Linked DNA regions of Homo sapiens: region 1 is linked to region 2. Evidence: promoter capture Hi-C in 16 types of primary human blood cells and fetal thymus (Javierre and others, 2016). All regions are on one chromosome and are shown on one strand. The core of a region is centred on a gene start or on the middle of the fragment in contact, and the rest is flanking DNA. Distances in the headings are between cores, read along the strand shown. Region 1 holds the start of NAA25 (N-alpha-acetyltransferase 25, NatB auxiliary subunit). Region 2 holds the start of FAM216A (family with sequence similarity 216 member A).

Evidence for each region. Contacts are between HindIII fragments. The CHiCAGO score rates a contact against its expected background, and 5 or more counts as called.
Region 1: the fragment with the promoter of NAA25 here is called in contact with the fragment with the promoter of FAM216A in region 2 in 1 of 17 cell types (fetal thymus); the score reaches 5.6 in fetal thymus.

The regions. Positions count from the first base shown.
Region 1 is chr12:112,107,218-112,112,335 of GRCh38, forward strand. NAA25 (N-alpha-acetyltransferase 25, NatB auxiliary subunit) reads right to left here and starts at 1,566. Exons shown (of 24, transcript NM_024953.4): 1 at 1,499-1,566. The coding sequence starts at 1,556. RefSeq lists silencers at 1,336-1,415, 1,436-1,515. The HindIII fragment of the contact is 1,965 bases long and covers 534-2,498 here.
Region 2 is chr12:110,466,328-110,471,460 of GRCh38, forward strand. It overlaps FAM216A (family with sequence similarity 216 member A), which reads left to right and starts at 2,518. Exons shown (of 7, transcript NM_013300.3): 1 at 2,518-2,691. The coding sequence starts at 2,549. It overlaps GPN3 (GPN-loop GTPase 3), which reads right to left and starts at 1,930. Exons shown (of 8, transcript NM_016301.4): 1 at 1,829-1,930. The coding sequence starts at 1,876. It overlaps LOC124903016 (a long non-coding RNA gene), which reads right to left. Exons shown (of 3, transcript XR_007063459.1): 2 at 4,312-4,489; 3 at 3,962-4,124. RefSeq lists enhancers at 2,042-2,171, 3,092-3,261 and a silencer at 2,582-2,891. The HindIII fragment of the contact is 771 bases long and covers 2,134-2,904 here.

The DNA of each region.
Region 1 (5,118 bases), core at 316-2,815, 1.6 Mb after region 2:
CCACTGTACTCCAACCTGGACGACAGAGTGAGACTCATCTCAAAAGAAAAAAAAGGTGAGCCTGAAACAGTCCACAGGGGTTCAAATTCTAGCTCCAAGAAATACTAACTGAGTGGCCTTAGACAAATTACACAACAACAATAAAGCCTCAGTTTCCTCATCTGTTTTTTTTTTTGTTGTTGTTGTTGTTAAAGGGTTCAGGGGCAGGAAAAAACAGTAGCCACCTCTTGAGAATGGGTGAAGATTATATTAGATAACCCATATAAAAGGCCAAGGCCAGTGACTGTCATAATGAGTCATCTATAAACCTTAGCTATAGGATTGTTGCTAAAATCAAATGAGATGTGAGAGTAAAAAAAAAAATCACACAAATTATGAAATAAAAGCCGGACTAACTGTGGCCAGAAACAAAGTTAACCACCGCCCCCCGCTCCCAAAACGATTCCCACCTTGGAGAGAAGCCTCCAATTTAGTAACATCCACATGAGGTCTATAAATACGATGTCTACTTTTGTAAAAACCACTGACCTTGAAGCTTCCTCACCATTAAGTGAGATAGACCAAGACCATAAAACCATCTAAGAGGAAAGGAAATGCAAAAAGGACCAATCCAATTACACATTTCGGTTATTGGAAAAGGGTTTCTCCCAAACTCAAAATCTGTGATTTTTCACTACCAGGGTAAATGGATGAGATGACATCAAGGTCTTCAAGTCTGCGGGTTGAGGTAAGAGTTGTGGAGAGGGATCTGCTTAGCACAGGGAAGGAAAGCTGCAGAGAAAACCACAGAGAAGCTGCAGAAAGGAGAAGCCCTCCAGTAGCTCTGCATGCCCCTCTGACACGAGCTATCACAATCTCTTCACCGCTATTTTAGGCCCAAGACCCCCTCCCCCCGCCTCCCACGTGTGACCAGAGTAGCTGCTTCTCCACCCAACAGCTCTGGATTGGGAGCCTGGAATCTCGGGCCTGCTCCTGACTCGATCTGGGTGACCTTGCGTCAGCCCCTTCCCCACTCCGGACCTCAGTTTCTCCTATGCACCGAAGCCCACCTAGTCAGACAACCCTCTAGGCCCAATTCCCGTAAATAAAAAAAAATCTCTGGTAGGGAATCTTCCCTCAGGCAGGGCGTCCCACCCTCGTGCCGGAGCCGGCTTCCACCTTCGGGGAGATCTCCGGTCTCCCTAGGAGCGGCGGTAACGATGCAGCCTGCGGGTAGCGCAGGTGTCTGCAGAACCACGCGTCCCACGGGGCCTGCCAAGCAGGCCAGCTCTGCCGACCAGCTGCTGCCCAGACCGCGCCACTACCACCCCAAGGCTGAGGAAGGTTGGGCCGGCGCCTACGCGAGGCCCGCGGCTGCGGCCTAGTGGCCCGCGCGGCCCGCCCCCCTGCGCCTGCCCGGCCCGCGCGCCGGCCCTCAGCACCCCTCCTGGGCTTTCGCCCCAGCCTCGGCAGCCCTCGGCGCGTCGGGCTGGCGAGCGGGCTGGTCCAAGACACTCACCGTAAATGGGCCGGAGGCGCCTGTCGTTAGGGTCCTGCACATGGCCCCGCGTCGCCATGATGACAAGCGCAGAACCACAGTGCGCACGCGCGGGGCAGGACCCCGGGAAAGGGCTATTAAAGGGCCAGCGTCGATCTCGCTTGTCTATCACGATAGTCGCGGTGCTGCGACTGAACGCGCCTGCGCGGAAAGGGAAGCATCCACCCTTGCCGATTGCCACCTCTTTAAACGCTGTTCCTTCACTTAGCAGGTGGGATCAAGCTGGCAAGAGGAGGCAGCTGTTGCTGTTAAAGTCTTCCGAGTCACTGACTGGGAAGTTAGGAGAGGAGGGGAGAAAGCTCTCAAAGTTAGGGTTCGGCTGCTCCTGTTTATCCTATTTATTCTCCGTCCTGAAGAACCAGCTAGACTTGGCTGTGATTAATCGCAGAGGAACCAGAAACTCCCGGGGGAGAGAGACCCAGGGGAAAGTTGGGGAAGCGGGGCTGATCAACAGCAAAAATCTGCCAAAAAAGTTCGAGAGAGCCGGGCGCTGTGGCTCAGCCTGTAATCCCAGCACTTTGGGAGGCCGAGGCGGGCGGATCACAAGGTCAGGAGATCGAGACCATCCTGGCTAACACGGTGAAACCCCATCTCTACTAAAAATACAAAAAAAGTTAGCGGGGCGTAGTGGCGGGCGCCTGTAGTCCCAGCTACTCATGAGGCTGAGGCAGGAGAATGGCGTGAACCCAGGAGGCGGAGCTTGCAGTAAGCCGAGATCGCGCCACTGCACCCCAGCCTGGGCGACAGAGCGAGACTCCATCTCAAAAAAAAAAAAAAAAAAAGAAAAAAGTTCGAGAGCCCTCCACCACCTGTTCCTGGACCAAACTGAGCGTCAGGCTGCTGTTTCTCCTGGTTCAGTAAGGAGATGCAGATGAACTGGAGAGGAAGCGAGTTTTTATTTCTGCAACCAGTTACAGGGAGAAGGCCTGGAAATTATCACCAGACCAACTTAAAATTACAAAGCTTTCCAGAGCTTATATACCTTCTAAGCTATATGTCTACGTGTAAATGTGCATTCATCTAAAGACATAAGTGATTAACTCGCCGGGCGCGGTGGCTCATGCCTGTAATCCCAGCACTTTGGGAGGCCAAGGCGGGCGGATCACGAGGTCAGGAGATCGAGACCACGGTGAAACCCCATCTCTACTAAAAATACAAAAAATTAGCTGGGCGCAGTGACAGGCGCCTGTAGTCCCAGCTACTAGGGAGGCTGAGGCAGGAGAATGGCGTGAACCCGGAAGGCGGAGCTTGCAGTGAGCCGAGATCCCGGCACTGCACTCCAGCCTGGGCGAGGGAGGCTCCGTCTCAAAAAAAAAAAAATAATAATAATAATAATTGATTAACTCACTTTAGTCTATAACTAAGGTTTGAGTCCTGAAGACTTTCCTTTGAAGCCTCAGTAAATTTACTTAATCTAAATGGCAATAGGTGCTGGGGTGATTATCCTTATCTTGCCTCCTACTAAATCACGGAGGTTTGGGGAGTTACTTCAGACCCCCAATAAAATTTGTTTAATCCTAAATGGGTCCTGTTAGGAATTCTTTCGTTATTTTGTCATGCTTTAAGGCCAAGGAAAGGCCTAGGCAAAACTCTTGGTGGGCTTTTGTTACATTCCATCCTTTGTATAAGGGCACTGGCTTTTTTTTTTTAGCTTTTAATATGTAACTTAACCACTCAGTTAGTACTGAAACAGTTGTTATGGAGGCCTGTGTTAGTGAGACCTGGCCTGCCACACACCCTTCTCCCAGGACTCAGCCAACAAAGAAGCATCCTAGATGAATACTTACTCGGTATCTGCCTAGAGTATTTAAATGCAAGGTCTTTACATTTATTCTCTCATTTAATTTTCATAACTGTCATCGTATTTCCCTGGGAGGTAGATCTTATTATTACCTCTCTTTTTACAGATAGATTTATTCGTACAACACTGAGTTATTGAGTGCCTATTATTTGACACACTCTTGTTTTAGGCACAGAGGATACATCAATAAATAAAATAGACAGAGACTTAATGGAGTTTTTATTTGTAGTGAGGGAGACAGACAATAAATAAGTAGATAGCCTATTACATGGTGATAAATGCTACTGAGAAAAATAAAGCAGGAAAGGGGGGCAGTGAGAGAGGGAGGTAATTTTAAATAGTGTGGTAAGGCTGGCTTGGTGGCTCACCCCTGTAATCCCACCACTTTGGCAGGCCAAAGTGGGTGGATCACATGAGGTCAGGGGTTCAAGACAAGCCTGGCCAACATGATAAAACCCCTTCTCTGCTAAAAATACAAATATTAGCTGGGTGTGGTAGTGTGAGCCTGTAACCCCGGCTACTCAGGAGGCTGAGGCAGGAGAATCGCTTGAACCCGGTAGGCAAAGGTTGCAGTGAGCCAAGATCGTGCCATTGCACTCCAGCATGGGCAACAGAGCAAGACTCTTGCATAAATAAATAAATAGGCCGGGTGCAGTGGGTCGTGCCTGTAATCTCAGCACTTTGTGAGGCCGAGGCGGGTGGATCACCTGAGGTCAGGAGTTTGAGACCAGCCTGGGCAACGTGGCGAAACCCCATCTCTACTAAAAATACAAAAAATTAGTCAGGCGTGGTGGCACGTGCCTGTAATCCCAGCTACTCCCGAGGCTGAGGCTTGAACCCGGGAGGTGGAGGTTGCAGTGAGCCAAGATCATGTTGTTGCACTCTAGCCTGGGCAACAGAGCAAGACTCCATCTCAAAAAAAAAAAAAAAAAAGGAAGGCATTTAAATACTCCAGAGGTCGGGAATGGTGACTCACGCCTGTAATCCTAGCACTTAGGAGGTCTAGGCGAGCGGATCACTTGAGGACATGAGTTCGAGACCAGCCTGGGCAACATGGCAAAACCCCATCTCTACTAAAAATAAAAAATTAGCTGAGCGGCTGGGCACAGTGGCTCACGCCTGTAATCCCAGCACTTTGGGAGGCTAAGGTGGGTGGATCACGAGGTCAGGAGATCGAGACCATCCTGGCTAACACGGTGAAACCCTGTCTTTACTAAAAATACAAAAAAATTAGCCAGACGTGGTGGCGGGCACTTGTAGTCCCAGCTACTCGGGAGGCTGAGGCAGGAGAATGGCGTGAACCCAGGAGACGGAGCTTGCAGTGAGCCGAGATTGTGCCACTGCACTCCAGCCTGCAACAGAGTGAGACTCCATCTCCAAAAAAAAAAAAAAAAAAAAAAAAATTAGCTGAGCAGGGTGGTGCGCACCTGTAATCCCAGCTACTCAGGGGGCTGAGGCACAAGAATCACTTGAGCCCAGGAGGTGGAAGTTGCAGAGCCGAGATTGCAACACTGCACTCCAGCCTGGGCAACAGAGGGAGACTCTGTCTCAAAAATATATATAAATAAATAAATACTCCCTGGATAAGGATCATTTGAGCCCAGGAGTTTGAGGCTGTAGTGAGCTATGATTGCACTACTGCACTCCGGCCTGGGTGACAGAGCGAGACCCTGACTCTCCAAAAACAAACAAACAAAGACTCCCGGGATGAAGTTATCAGGCAAAGTACAACAAAATATTTGAGACATACATACATACATTCACTGTTTATCTTAAATTC
Region 2 (5,133 bases), core at 1,268-3,767:
ACTCAAGGAATGTTTCTGATAGTAAGCATCAAAAGCTTATAAAGATACTTGTTTAATACAATCAGCCCAAAAATTAAAATAGACTATAGAAAAAACATCCATCATGCTGTCCTCTCAGTGCCTTTACACATACTGTTGTCTCTGTCTGGAATGCCCTCTCCATACATCACACACTGTATCTTTTTTTTTTTTGCAAAGGGTCTCACTGTCACCCAGGCTGGAGTGCAGTGGCACCATCATAGCTCACTGCAGCTTTGACCCAGGCTCAAGCGATTCTCCAGCCTTAGCCCCCCGAGTAGGTGGGACTATAGGCTCTCGCCACCATGCCCAGCTAATTTTTGTATTTTTGGTAGAGACAGGGCTTCACCATGGTGCCCAGGCTGACCCTGAACTCCTGGGCTCAAGTGATCTGCTGGCCTCAGCCTCCCAAAGTGCGAGGATTACAGGCTTAAGCCACCACACCTGGCCACATCACACTGTATCTTAATTGACAGGTCATCTATTTGTCTTCCCCAAAAGACTACAGACTCTGGGTAAGTTAAAGGCCATAGGTATCTTAGTTACATGTACATGTTTTTACCCAGAATAAGTCAACAGCTTAGAACAATGTGTTTGTTAAAGACTGAGGCCACACAACACCTCCACAGACTCTAGTGTTTCCACACTTCTTCTTTTTTTTTTTTGCGACAGTACCTCTGTCACCCAGGCTGGAGTGCAGTGGCACGATCACCACTCACCACAGCCTCAACCTCCTGGGTTCAGGTAATCCTCCCACTTCAGCTTCCCGAGAAGCTGGGACTAGAGGTACCTGCCACCAGGCCTGGCTAATTTTTGCATTTTTTTGTAGAGACAGAGTTTCGCCGTGTTGCCAAGGCTGGTCCCAAACTCCTGGGCTCAGGCGATCCGTCCACCTCCATCTCCCAAAGTGATAGGATTACAGACGTGAGCCACCACGCCTGGCTATGTTTCCCACACATATGTTATTTGATCCATATCTTCACCATTCTCACTGTATTTGAATGTTCCTAACATTCCCTTAATATTTGTTTACAAGAAAAAATTTTATCCCTACTGTAAACTGAAAACCACTTATATTTGACATAACGTGAAATTAGACATAAAATTATATAAAATCTTTAAATGTTCTATTTTTAGCTAAATACAGGTGCCTATTAAAAGCTCTGAGACTAAGAACTGCTCTCTGAAAAGACCTGGGGATTAAAGAAGTGCTGAAGATACACACTAGCACCGAGCACAACTTCTCCTAAATGCGAAGTTGAGAACTGAAAGAGAAATGAAAAGGGAACAATTTCCCTAACACATTATCTGATGCTCCTTAATGTGGGGTCCATGTACCACCTACCACCTAAAAGCACCTTAAATACCAAAAGTCCATGTCCCAAGTTCTGAGAAACAGTAATTAATGAGACCCCACTTTACCCTCCTGGGAGCGAGACAGGGCCGGATTCTGGAGTTGAGACAAAACTGGATTTATATTTTTTTGCGGGGCAAAGAACTTAATTAACCTTTCTGTATCTCGTTTTCTGTAAAATGAGAAAAATGAGATCTCTCTCACAGGGTTGTTGTAGAAATAAGCGAGGCGTTTCATCTGCTGCCTGGGGCTTAAGTATACAATAAATATTAACAACTACCATTATTTCCCTTTCAAAACAACAACAAAAAAGAACGTGAAGCCAGACAGCAGAAATGAGTTGCGTGGGGTCTCAGGGTTCCCAGTACACACACCCGCCGGCTCACTCCCTCAGGACCCAATCTCCCGCCTTCCACGAACTCCTACTTTTCTCTCCTTGTCCCCGCAGATCCTCACCTTCCCGCTGCCCGCGGGGCCCATGACCAGCTGCGCATACCGAGGCATGTTGGCTCCCGGAGCCGCCCGCCACACTCCCTTAGCCTTCGCGCGACGCCCACTGAGCTCCGGGAAAGTGAAGTGCGAACCAATCGCAATCCACATTCTTTCTACGCCTCCAGTTCTACCACACCTCCTACTACGGGGCAGCCCGCGGGCCAAATCCCGTGAGAAACGCGTCCTGAGAAAAAAGGGGAGGGGCGAGGGAGAGGATTTGCGCGTGCGCAAAAGTAGTTGATGGAAATCGGCCGTTGGGATGCTGTCTAAGCTTGGATACCTGAGTAATAACGGACAACAGATAAAGCTCCGCATCCTTGCGCCACGTGCTTCGGTCCGTGGTTTGCGTGCAGACGTTTGACCTGTATGGTGACCCTCGCGATTTGCAAATGTGCTGAGGATCTGGAATACTGAAGTGGAAGGCACCTCTTGTTTTGGGGAGCATGTATATTTCCCTCCTGTGACGCACTGCTTCCACAGAGAGGTGCAAACGTGCAAACGCTCAGCGACCGCAGCGCTCCTGCCCCTCCCCCACCGTAACTCCGGGGTCGCGGATCTGCCCGCCCCGCTCTCCCGAAGCTGTTCGGGCAGTGTCCGAACGGCTTCGGAGGGGCGAGAAGCCAGCATCCGAGCCGCCTCTCCGGAATACCAGCAGCCTGACGCACGCGTGCTGTCGGGGGAGGGATGCTGGGACAGCTGCTCCCGCACACGGCTCGCGGTCTCGGCGCCGCGGAGATGCCCGGCCAGGGTCCGGGGTCCGACTGGACGGAGCGTAGCTCTTCTGCAGAGCCGCCCGCTGTGGCCGGGACCGAGGGTGGCGGCGGCGGGTGAGGTTGGGGGCCCCGGGGTAAGGGTGGCAGCATGGGGCCCCCGGGTCGTGAGGCCCCCGGGTCGTGAGCCCCGTGGAGGAGGGCTGCGGCCGACCTCTCGTCTCGGGGGCTGGCCCCGGTGCCCTCAAGTGAGAGGCGGGGAGCAGTTTTGTTGTGGACAGAGGGCAGAGGGGAGGACTGCCTCGCGGTTGAGGGAGGGTCTCTGAGGGAAGCTTCGGAGGAGCGTTTGGTGCAGTGGCCACGAGGTGACTGCGACAGTCGCCCGCGTGCATCTCTCTGCCCCGAGGGGGCGCTGCGAGCCCTGCTGGGACGTTTGCTGTCTGGCACAGGACTGTGTGTCCACCGAAAGGCGAGGCGGGAGGGACAGAGGAGGAAGATGTCCCCCGGTTCAACTGGGGGCATCCAGGCCCATAAACCAGTTCCTTCCCTCTAGTGACATGAGCCACCTTCCTGTCAAACGGGGATTTCTTTTTCTTTTTTTTTCTTTTCTTTCTTGTTTTTTGAGAGCGAGACAGTCTCGCTCTGTTGCCTAGGCTGGAATGCGGTGGTGCGATCTCAGCTCACTGCAACCTCAGCCTCCCAGGTTCAAGTGATTCTCCTGCCTCAGCCTCCCGAGTAGCTGGGATTACAGGCGCCTGCCACCACGCCCGGCTAATTTTTGTATTTTTAGTAGAGAGGTGGTTTCACCATGTTGGCTAGGCTTGTGTCGAACCCCTGACCTCAAGTGAGCCGCCCGCCTCGGCCTCCCAAATTGCTGGGATTACGGGGTGAACCATTGCGCCCGACCTCAAACGAGGATTTCTAATCGCCAATGAGACCAATGACTGAATATCCGAGGTGCCTTGATCTTGACATTTTCTTCACACTGAAGTTCCTTTTTTCACAAATCTATTTCGTTTTGAGCAGGTTTTTACACCTATTTCCTAGATAGTGAAGACAGCGAGCTGTTGAAGTCACTGCTGGAGACTCTACCTCCTCTTCCTCTCCCTACTTTATTCCCTAAAAGCAAGAACTGCGATATGTTTGCCGTTCAGTACAACCCGCAGTCAGGGCCCCTGTTGCACCCATGGCCATCCTTTTTGTTTTTTTTTTTTTGAGACAGAGTCTCGTTCTGTTGCCCAGGCTGGAGTGCAGTGGTGCCATCTCAGCTCACTGCAAGCTCCGCCTCCCGGGTTCACGCCATTCTCCTCCCTCAGCCTCTGGAGTAGCTGGGATTACAAGCGCCTGCCACCACGCCCGGCTACTTTTTTGTATTTTTAGTAGAGACGGGGCTTCACCGTGTTAGCCAGGATGGTCTCGATCTCCTGACCTCGTGATCCGCCCGCATGGCCGTCCTTTTTGTCTCTGGTGCTACTGAAGACTTCTTAAAGATGGGATGGAGTCTTGGGTTTCTTTTCTGTTCTTCACAGTCCTTGGCCGACTGCAGGATCCTGGTGTATCAGGAGATACGTGAATTTTTTTTTTTTTTTTTATTGAGACAGAGTCTCCCTCTGTCACCCAGGCTGGAGTGCAGTGTCACGATCTCAGCTAACTGCAACCTCCGCCTCCTGTGTTCAAGCAATTCTCCTGCCTCAGCCTCCCAAGTAGCTGGGACTACAGGTGTGCGCCACCACGTACCTGGCTAATTTTTGTATTTTTAGTAGAGATGGGCATGAGCCTGTAATCCTGGAAGGTTCTATTATGATCCCCACTTTATGGATGACAAAACAGGCACAAAGAGGTTGTTTGTCCTTTCCTTTTATCTCCGCCTGTCGTTCATCTCCATGCTTCCTTTAGTTTATCCAAACTCTTAAAACTACAATTAAAAAAAAAGACAGTATGCCCTTCAGTTTGGTTTAAGGAACCCCATTAAAAAACACAAACCAAGACTAATTTATGAAAAGCTTATATTCCCAGAAATACAAAATAAAATTTTCAAACTAGAATCAGGTTTATTATGCTACATGATACAATGTTGGCACTGGCAGGGGTCTTAAAAATCATCAATTCCGGTCATATTTACTAATCTGAAAGGGGAAGTGATCTGCCAAAAATCCCATTATTAACTAATGGGAACTCCGGAACTCCTTACTTTTTTTCTTCTTTTTTTTTGAGATGGAGTCTCGCTCTGTCACCCAGGCTGGAGTGCAGTGGTGTGATCTTGGCTCACTGCAACCTCCGCCTCCCAGGTTCAAGCGATTCTCCTGCCTCCTGAGTAGCTGGGACTACAGGCACGTGCCACTACGCCTGGCTAAGTTTTTGCATTTTTAGTAGAGAACGGGGTTTCACCATGTTAGCCAGGATGGTCTCGATTTCCTGACCTCGTGATCCACCCGCCTCGGCCTCCCAGAGTGCTGGATTACAGGCGGGAGCTACCGTGCCCAGCACTTTTTTTCTTTAAAGTCAGGTTTATTGAGGCATAATTTACACAAATTAAAGTCTTACTTTTTCATGTATAAT